Linked DNA regions of Homo sapiens: region 1 is linked to region 2. The links are contacts of gene promoters, found by promoter capture Hi-C in blood cells and fetal thymus (Javierre and others, 2016). All regions are on one chromosome and are shown on one strand. The core of a region is centred on a gene start or on the middle of the fragment in contact, and the rest is flanking DNA. Distances in the headings are between cores, read along the strand shown.

Evidence for each region. Contacts are between HindIII fragments. The CHiCAGO score rates a contact against its expected background, and 5 or more counts as called.
Region 1: the fragment with the promoter of TMEM50B here is called in contact with the fragment with the promoter of URB1 in region 2 in 9 of 17 cell types (naive CD8 T cells, non-activated CD4 T cells, total CD8 T cells and 6 more); the score reaches 15.9 in naive CD8 T cells.

Annotation. Positions count from the first base shown.
Region 1 is chr21:33,477,021-33,482,234 of GRCh38, reverse strand. TMEM50B (transmembrane protein 50B) reads left to right here and starts at 2,261. Exons shown (of 7, transcript NM_006134.7): 1 at 2,261-2,397. It also overlaps the pseudogene RPS5P3. The HindIII fragment of the contact is 5,416 bases long and covers 1-5,214 here.
Region 2 is chr21:32,391,274-32,396,546 of GRCh38, reverse strand. URB1 (URB1 ribosome biogenesis factor) reads left to right here and starts at 3,535. Exons shown (of 39, transcript NM_014825.3): 1 at 3,535-3,778. The coding sequence starts at 3,637. URB1-AS1 (URB1 antisense RNA 1 (head to head)) reads right to left here and starts at 3,414. Exons shown (of 1, transcript NR_026845.1): 1 at 2,587-3,414. RefSeq lists enhancers at 2,933-3,182, 2,705-3,486, 3,333-3,627, 3,487-4,269. The HindIII fragment of the contact is 11,778 bases long and covers 1,693-5,273 here.

The sequences.
Region 1 (5,214 bases), core at 1,012-3,511, 1.1 Mb before region 2:
CATGCTGATCGACAGAGACACTCAGGCTGTGCCCTCAGGATGACCGAGTGGGAGACAGCAGCACCAGCAGTGGCAGAGACCCCTTGACATCAAGCTCTCTGGGAAGTGGAGCACTGATGATATGCAGATCAATGGCATTTCCCTGCAGGATTACACTGCAGTGAAGGAGAAGTATGCCAAGTACCTGCCTCACAGTGCTGGGTGGTATGCAGCCAAATGCTTCCGCAAAGCTCAGTGCCCCATTGTGGAGCCCCTCACTAACTCCATGATGATGCACGGCTGCAACAACAGCAACAAGCTCATGATCATGTGCATCATCAAGCATGCCTTCGATTTCATCCACCTGCTCACAGGCGAGAACCCTCTCCAGGTCCTGGTGAACGCCATCATCAACAGTGGTCCCTGGGAGGACTCCACATGCATTGGGCGAGCAGGGACTGTGAGACAACAGGCTGTGGACATGTCCCCACTGCACTGTGTGAATCAGGTCGTCTGGCTGCTGTGCACAGGCACTCGTGAGGCTGCCTTCTGGAACATCAAGACCATTGCTGAGTGCCTGGCGGATGAGCTCATCAATGCCACCAAGGCCTCCTCCAGCTCCTATGCCATCAACAAGAAGGATGAGCTGGAGTGTGGGGACAAGTCCAACCGCTGATTTTCCTGGCTGCTGCCTAATAAACCAGTCTGCCCTTTGGGATGCCTCCCCCACCCCCCCAAAAAAAGTGATGAGATTTGGAAACTTCTAATTGTCCCCTAATATCTAGTTTTCCTTCCTTAGTACTGAAACCCCATTTTCCAGCCTTCTTTGCAATTTGGTGTAGTCAAGTGACTATTTTACTAGCAGAATGAAAACAAAAATGGTACATGCAACCCCCGCCCCTTTCAAAAGGTTCTTAAAGAGAGGAGAGTGTTCCCTTCTGTATCCTCTCTTCTGGTGGAATGCCAGCATTGTGACATATTTCAAAAGTAAATTATTCAGCACATATTTATTGAACACCTAGATCCTAGCCCATGTATAAGAGCTATAGGAGAACATTATCCAGGATGGCATTTTTGGTGATAATTCCATGATACAAAACCTTTTACTTCATTATGCCTCAAGTAAAATGCTTTTTAGATTTCCACTGATAATAACTCTACTTGGCTGGGCACAGTGGCCCACGCTTGTAATCCCAGCATTTTGGGAGGCAGAGGCGGGTGGATCACCTGAGGTCAGGAGTTCAGGATCAGCCAGGTGAAATCCCGTCTCTACTAAAAATACACAAATTAGCCAAGCATGGTGGTGCGCACCTGTAATCCCAGCTACTCGGAAGGCTGAGGTGGGAGGATTGATTGAGCGTGGGAGGTAAGAGGCTGCAGTGAGCCAAGATCACACCACTGCACTCCACCCTGGACAACAGAGCAAGACCCTGTCTCAAAACAAACAAACAAACCACCCAAAAAACAAAGCTCGACTTTCCCCCAAACAACTAAATGGTTATAGGCATTTCTGTAGGAAATTTAGACGGGGCTTCCAAACGCTGTTAAAGTTATGTTGAAAATCCAAGAGGCTGAAAGATATCTGACTATAAGAAAGACGAAAAAAAAAAAAAAAGACAAAAATCTACGTGAATAGACGGGAGAGCGCCGAGCGAAATCAGAAGACTAGTTGTATTGTGAGGATCACCTCGGGTAACCAGCACTCGCTGGGTAGCCCTGGTTTACTAACTTCAACTTTCTGGGGCTCCATTTCTGAATTGAGGGGATTAGAAAAAGGCATCTCTAAAGACCCTCCGTTCCCGAGAACCCTCCCGGAGCACCTTCCCTACTCTGGGCAGCTCGCAGACAGACAAGACTGATCGGCCATAGGCGAAGGGAAACCCTGGTCCCCCGGGTCTCGAGCTCCGTCCGCACGTAATCTCACGGTACTGCACTTCAAGTCAGCGTGCAGAAACGCAGCAGTGGGAGCCCGGCGGCGGCCGCCCACCGGCAGGGGACAGGAGAGGCCCGTCCCGCTCTGCCCGGAACCGTAGATAGCTGGGTCTGAACTCCGGCTCCGGGAGGCCTGCAGAGCAGCCCACCCCGTCCCTCGGAGCTCGCCCTGCCCCCGGCCGGCCACTTGCTGCACGCCGATTGGTCGCGAGGAGCGCCCGGCGTCCCGCTGCGCCCAGCCAACGCCCTCTCCCCGCCCCCTCGCGTCCCGCCCCGCCCCCGGCCGGCCACTTGCTGCGCTCCGATTGGTCGCTGCGGTGCACACGGCGCCTCGCCCCGCCTCACCGGCGCTCTATCCTCGCGTCTGCTCCCAGCTCCGGGCTCCCGGGGCTGAGGTGGAGCCGCGGGACGCCGGCAGGGTTGTGGCGCAGCAGTCTCCTTCCTGCGCGCGCGCCTGAAGTCGGCGTGGGCGTTTGAGGAAGCTGGGTGAGTCCTGTCTGTGGGTCTCCGGCGCCAGGCAACCGTAGAGGGCTCGCGCCCGCCGCCCGCGCGTAAGGAGGCTCCCTCGTCGGGCCCTGTCCGGCCCGGCCTTCTGGGGGCTGTGGGGCCGTCCAGCCGGGTTTTCCCTGCGTTCGGCGCCGGCCTGCAGACTCGGGCCCGCGGAGCCCCCGCCGCCCCTTCTTGCCCCTGCCCGCGTCCCTTCGGGCCGACCGTGACCGTGGCGCCGCCGCGACCCGCAAGCAGCCCGGGGAGGCTGCCCTGCCGCGCTGTCACGCCGTCAGGTTGCGTTCCTGGGGAGGGCTGGAGAGGCTCCATCTCGTGCCTTTCACCTTCTCGCGCGGCGGGCACGGAGGCGACGGTTTTCGGGACGCCCTGCTGCGGCCGCGACGCCCTCCCGAGGCCGGAGCGAGGGCCCCGGGGCGGCTCCAGCCCTTCTTCGCCCCTCCCGTTTGCCCCGAACCATTGCTAGGAGCCTGTGTTTTCTGCACTTTTCTGATTTCATTCTTACGAGAGTCAAGTACAGAGGCGGGAGGGGAAAGGGAAGGGGAACAACATTCTTTCGAGAATTATAAACCTTGAGCTCCGTTAAATAAGTAGCAGCAGAGCATTGTCACTGGAGCAGTGGTAGTCGCGGGTAGGACCGTTTCGGTTTTTAGCCAATAGGCTGGTTAAAGGTACTTAAAACAGTAAGTTGGAAGGTGCTGAAATTCTAAGGTAAATACGTGACCTTTCAAAACCAAAGCAGTGAGACGGGCTAGGCTGGGCTGCTCCCCGCTGCGCGTGCCTGGGTCGGGGGGTGCGGAGGGGCAGGGGGCGGAGGCCTCGGACGGGACGGGGTGGGAGGGAAGTGGCATCCGCATCGTCTTACATCGCGCTGTAAGACCCGATTTTCTCTTTTCGGAGGATCCCATCTCCCTTCTCAGACTCTTCATCCTACCTGCACTGTGGATCCCTTGACACTTCAGAGGCTCTGAACTCTCAGGCCGGTCACACTTTTTCATCATTTTGTTTCTTGTCTTTTAAACCTGCATGCATTTCAAACGTAGAGCAAACATTAAACTTTTTTTTTAAACTGAAGATAGTGGTGCAAGACTTTGTTATTGAAATGCAAACCAAAAGTTATCTTGAATATTTATCGCGCTGGAAAAGCAGGTTTAATTAGAGTGAGGTGGGGACGTATATTTCTTCTTCCGGAGACACAGCCTTCCCACTCACCACCCCAATCCCTCCTCTCTGTCAACTAGGGTTACAGCAGCCTTACACTGGCTAGTCTTTTCTGAATTCTGAATTCACTTCTGGGGGCCAAGGTAAAGAATTTATCGTATTTTATCCTCATTTTCCTTTTCTGTTTTTTTTGAGACAGAGTCTCCCTCGTTGACCAGGCTACAAGTACAGTGGCCCGATCTCTGCTCACTGCAGCCTGCACCTCTAGGGTTAAAGGGATTTTACAGCCTCAGCCTCCCGAGTAGCTGGGATCACAGGCGCCTGCCACCATGCCTGGCTAATTTTTATATTCTTAGTAGAGAGAGAGTTTCACCATGTTGGCCAGGCTGGTCTTGAACTCCTGACCTCAAGTGATCCGCTTGCCTCGGTCTCTGAAAGTACTGGGATTACAGGTGTGGGCACCGCGCCTGGCCTTTTAAAGTGTATTATTATTATTTTTAAATTTATTTATTTATTTATTTTTTGAGACAGAGTCTTGCTCTGTCTCCCAGGCTGGAGTGCAGTGGCAAGATCTCGGCTCACTGCAAGCTCCACGTCCTGGGTTCACGCCATTCTCCTGCCTCAGCCTCCCTAGTAGTTGGGACTACAGGCGCCCACCACCACGCCCGGCTAATTTTTTGTATTTTTAGTAAAGACGGGTTTTCACCGTGTTAGCCAGGATGGTCTCGATCTCCTGACCTCGTGATCCACCTGCCTCAGCCTCCCAAAGTGCTGGGATTACAGGCGTGAGCCACTGTGCCCGGCCTAAAGTTTATTTTTAACTTATGTATATATATATATAATTTTTGAGGCCGAGTTTTGCTCTTGTTGCCCAGGCTGGAGTGCAATGGCGCTATCGTGGCTCACTGCAACCTCCGCCTCCCAGGTTTAAACGATTCTCCTGTCTCAGCCTCCCAAGTAAACTGGGATTACAGGCGCCCGCCGCCACGCCCAGCTAATTTTTGTATTTTTAGTAGAGACTCGAACTCCTGACCTCAGGTAACCCCCCCCCGCCTCGGCCTCCCAAAGTGCTGGGATTACAGACGTGAGCCACCGTACCTAGCCCGTTTTACTTTTTAAATGATTAAAGTAACATTCAGGTTGTTTAAAACATTTAAACATGACAGAAGAATATCAAGTAAAATTCAGACAGCGCAGAGGTATGTCAAGTTAGAATTCCTTGTTTGTTCACTCTTTACATCCTCAATTCCATTCCCTAGGAGGGTATTATATTATAATATTGCTCGGCAACTGATGATAATATAAGGACACATTTCCTTCATAAGCACGTGGAGACCTACCTCATTTCCTCCCAACCCCACCCCTCACTTTGGAGACCGGGTCTCACTGTGTTGCCCAGGCTGGAGTGCAGTGGTTCCCTCACGGCTTGCTGCAGCCTTGGGCTCAAACGATCCTCCCACCTCAGCCTCCTGAGAAGCTGAGACTATAGGCGAGTGCCACCATGCCTAATTTTTGTAATTTTTGTAGAGACGGGTTTCTCATATTGCCCAGGCTGGTCTTGAATTCCTGAACTCAAGCCATCCACCTGCCTCAGCCTCTCAAAGTGCTGGGATTACAGGTGTGAGCCATCCTGCCCAG
Region 2 (5,273 bases), core at 2,286-4,785:
ACTTAGCTATTCCTGGATTGTTCTTTTTCCATAAGAATATATTATGGTTTTCTGAATTTAATTTTTATTGGAATGGTAATAGTTTACAGCTTAATTTAGGAAAAATTAGCAGTTTTACAATGTGAAGACATTCTTCCGTGAACATAGTATGTATCTTTATTTAACCAAATATTATTTTACAATGTTGTCCTTAAAGATGCTGTGCAGTCTTTTTAGTTTAATTCTGAGAATTTGTAGGGTTTTTTTCTTTCTAAATGGTGCTTTGTTTTCTACCACATATTTATTTATTTTTGTTTTATATTTATTTTATTTTTTGAGACAGGGTCTCCCTCTGTTGCCCTGGCTGGAGTGCAGTGGAGCAATCTGGCTCACTGCAGGCTCGGTCTTCTGGGCTCAAGCAATCCTCACACCTTGGCATCCTGACTAGCTGGGACTACAGATATGCACCACCACACCAGCTACTTAAATTTTTTTTTTTTTTTTGTAGAGACGAGGTCCTACTATGTTGCTCCCGAGCTCAAGTGCTCCTCCCACCTTAGTCTCCCAAAGCGCTAGGATTACAGGCATGAGCCACCACACCCAGCTTCTCCTACATATTTAAATTAGCTATTGCTAATGTAGAGGTAATGCTACCAATTTTGGTAACTGATTTTATGTCTGACAACCTTGCTAAATTCTTATTTAGCTTGCATTTCTATTGAATTTTCCAATTAGATTACAGTTTCATTTCTTATTTCTTTGTCTTGCCTTATTTCACTAGCCACGACCTCTCGTAATAGATAGTAGCATGGTGGACATCCCTGTTTTTCCTATTGTTCCCAGTCATAATTCAAGTTCATATAGTTTTCCCATTGTGCATGATAATTGCTGCAGGTTTTTGGTATATAGTCTTTACCAAGTTAAGGAAAGTCCTTCTATCCCTAGTTTTATGTGAATTTTAAAAATCATAAATAGGTATCTTTTCAAATGTCTTTTTCCATCTATTGAAATAATAACGGATTTTTCTCCTTTAATCCATTATTGTGGTGAGTTATATAAGCAAGATATTCTTTCCTTGTATTTCTTGTGTTTTTTTCAAGTGCTGTTTTGTATTCAGTTAACTAATATTCTATTTACACACATTTATATCCATACTTGAAATAAGTTCATCATTTTCATACTTTGTGTTATCCTTAGCTTGTTCTGTATTTAAGGTTATATGAGCCTCGTAAAAGATGTTGGGATACTTTATTTTTTATTTTGTGGAACTAACGGCACAAGGTGAGAATTATCTGTTTCTGAAAAGATTGTTAGAACTTAACTGAAAAATCATCTTCATGTTGGGAAAGTGCTATGGTTTGAACGTTTGTGTCCCCCTCAAATTCATTATGTTGAAACCCCATCCCAAGTGTGATATTTGGTTGTGGGAGGCCTTTTGTGAGGTGACTAGCTCATGAGGGTGGAGCCCTCAGATGTAATTAGTGAGTGTCTTTATAAAGTAGGCCCAATCAAGAAAGGTCGGGAGACAGAGAGTGAGGTATGTACAGGAAAAGTCCACATCTGAGCCACTTGAGCTCTGGGCAAAGAGTTTCAAAGAGAGGGAACAAGTACAAAAGCTCTCGGGCTTTTTTCCTCAGCTTAGAATGTCCTAGGAGCAGTACCACATAGTCTGCAACAAACCAGAATGCTCCTGGAGGCAAATAATACAAAGCTTTGATATGGAAAGACAAGTCACTATCCAGAGGTTGGTGAGCCTCATATCTGAACAAAGGGTTAACCCAGCATCAATGATTCATGGCATTAACTTAGTCTAAAACATCCAAATGCACTTCTGAGCCACACTTGCCATCCATACATCTCTGGCTAAGGCTGTAAATGGGCACTGCCAACTTCTGTTTCTTTGTTTTTAATTTGGGACTAGGATACACTGGGTGAGTCCTGGCTCCACCAGTTACTAGCTGGATAATCCTGGGAAGTTCCTCATGCTCTTTAATTGTTTGTAAAGCAAACCAGCACAGAGGGATGGTAATTTGCCCAAGGTCACACAGGCAGAAACTGAACTCAGGGCTTTTGACTGTTTCCTAACTCTTTCTGATAACTTTTTGGTTGGGACCACCATGGCAGAAAACAAAGTTGGTGGTTAGCGATTAACCAAAGAAGAGGACCAGTGTGGATAATCAGTCAGAATTAAGTCTGTATTCACTAATGAGTGTTGCCTTTTACAGATGACTTTTTGAGCATATTCCCCTCTCTTAACATTGCTGCATTAGCTCATATCTGCTAGGGGTGACACCCTCTCTCTGACCTGCCTACAACATAGACATCTCCACAGGCACAATCATCTTGTCGGGACAGAGGCTCAGCGTCAACACACGTGCTTTTTCTACTAGAAACTCTGAGACCCCAACAGGCCACAAAAGCCCACATCCTCAGATGTTCAAAACACATCTGCTTACAGAATATGAAACACAATTTTCTTAGACTAGAGGACAACCTGATGGAGAATTTCAGTAATCACCAAGTTACTTATCTAATGCGCTGGTTCATGATTTATTTGGACACATACCTAAGTATCGATGAAGTCGTATTAAAATATGTACCAGCCTGTTTTTACTTATTTTTACTTTCATTTTATTTCAGAGCATTTAATGCGGTTTACAAATCAATCACATCTTCCAAAAACACACTGTGTTGTTTTTCTCCTCAAAGCAGTTTTTCATACATTGCATCATTTTCTGTTCATAACAGTCCCAAGGACTGGATAGGGTCGGCTTTGCTGTCTCCATTTTAATGACAGGAACTTAGATGTGGAGGCCTTACGCTGTCCAGGAAGGGGTTTTACAGACGTTACTTCGTTTGGTCTTCTCCTCCCACCCTGCACGGCGCAAAGAGCCCATCAGTTTGCGGAAGTCTGGGGTGGAGGACAGTCTGGAGTGACAGGCTGCTACCAGACCAGTCGATCTGGTTCGGGCTGTGACATAAGCTAGGGGTCGAAGTCAGGGGCACCCGCACAGGCGGACCTGCCTGGCACCTAGCCAAGGCGAATCCACCTTCCCGGCCAGCCACCAGGGCCTTGAATTGGCAAAGTATCGAATCCTGTTGTGTGTGAAGCAAGCTCTTCATGCGACACCTTCAGGGCGACCTCGGGTCAAGAACTACTCATTGTGCTGCTTGGACGCGCCGGGGCCCGAGTCTTCGTGGATCGGCCAGGCCAGGAGTGAAAGGTCTGGGAGTTCTTCCGGCCAAGAGCACCCGAAGAGCCACTGGGATCAGAAATGCGCCCCGGTGGACCCCAAACCCTGCAGCCGGGGGCGGGGGGTGTCGTGGAGTGTCCGCTCGCCCCATGCCGTGACCGGGACAACCGGTACAGCAAACTCACATGGAGCCCCAAGACTCTGGATCCCCAAGACTCTGGATCCCTATCGCCCCGCCCCTTCTGCAGGCCACGCCCCTTCCGCCGGTCCCAGCCTCGCGCGGGTCGGCCCCTTCCGCCGGCCTTTCCCCGAGCCCCGCCTCTTCCGCCAGCCCCGCCTCTTCCGCCAGCCCCGCCTCTTCCTGCGCCATGTGGGCCTGAAGCGCGTGTCTGCTGTCTGTGCCAGTGCTCCTGCCGGGTCCCCTCAGGTGTGTCGTTTCCGTCGCGCTTCCGCCCTCTCGGCCATGGGGGTCCCCAAGAGGAAGGCCTCGGGCGGCCAGGACGGCGCGGCTTCCTCCGCGGGTGCAGCCAAGCGCGCCCGCAAAGAAGAGCTCACGGGCGTGCGGTTCAAGGCTCAGCTGAAGGACCCGCAGGGCCCCGGGCCAGGTGAGTCCGGGGCGGCAGGCGCAGGGTCGGGAGCACAGGCTGGCGAGGCGGCCTCCGTGTGCCGGGCACAGCCTCTCCTTTCTGCAGCTTTCGGGTCACATAGGCTCAGTGGCAAGCCTCTGGTTTGCAGAAAACTGAGGTTCAGGACTGCTGTGTACTTCCTTGCTCTGGACTGTCGGCGACAGCGAGAGGGCCCCGACTTGCTTGATTGGGACCGTTTCATGTTACAACACATTTATTTCCCTTGCCCAGGCAGCATCCCTCAGCGAGCTCTAAAACCTCTTTATTGCAGTTGTCAGGGAAGTAAATGAAGTGTCCTTCTCTATTGAGTCCTTACTGAGTCGGCTCAGGACGGTTCATGAGACAGTTTGCTACTCCTTGGGCCGTCAGCACCGTTTTCAATAGCTTCCATCCCCCAACACTCATACTGACTTGATGACTTGTAACAAGCTACTAGAAGCCACCACAGCTACTTGTCAGTTGACCAGGAATGGGCCAGTGACTGAGATGTAGCCGACTCTATAATTTAATTACACTTTTTGTAAAGTGTGACCACCCTTCGCGACTACTTGTAATCGTTTGGAAAGTAACATGGTTTGGGAAAAACGCAATTGAACGTGTTGCCATGTGGAAGCATTGCTCTAAAATAAAACAGTGGCAGTTTTTCTCCCAGGTTAAATAAACGATTAAATTAATGGCCAAAATATCTTCAACTTCCAATTTTTGTCCTCATTTTTTTTTTTAAACGACAGGGTCTTGCTCTGTTGCCCAGGCTGAAGTGCAGTGGCACTATCATAGCTCACTGCAGCCTTGAACTTCTGGGCTTAAGCTGTCCTCCCACCTCAGCCTCCCAAGTAGCTGAGATTGTAGGTGCACAACACCATGCCCAGCTATGTTTTTTTTTTTTTTTTTACTTTTTGTAGAGATGGAATCTCACTATGTTGTCCAGGCTGCCCTCGAACTCCCAGTCTCAAGCAATCTTCCCACCTTGTCTTCTCAAAGGGCTGGGAGTATAGGTATGAGCCACCACACCTGGCCTGTTTTTAAACTTTGATACCTATACCTGTACTTGCTAGTCACAGCTAGGAAGATGATACTTAGTTAGCATAGAGTTATTTATTTCCGAATTCATTAAGTATTACTAGAGGCTATTATTTGCTACGGTAGAGATAAAGTGATGAATAAAAATGTCAAAAAGCCTCTGCCATTGTGGGGTTTACAAACAGTCGAGTGGGGCAGGCAGATATTGGTCAGTAAAATCACATACATACAGTTTCAAGCACGAGTTTTCCAAAGGAGAGGTACATGGTGCCTGAGGGTGTTTAACAGACCTTGGATCTAATCTGGGAGCTCAAAGAAGGCTCCCCTGAGGAAGTGGCTTTTCTTTTCTTTTTTTTTTAATCATACTTTAAGTTTTAGGGTACATGTGCACAACGTGCCCCTTTGTTACATATGTATACATGTGCCATGTTGGTGTCCTGCACCCATTAACTCG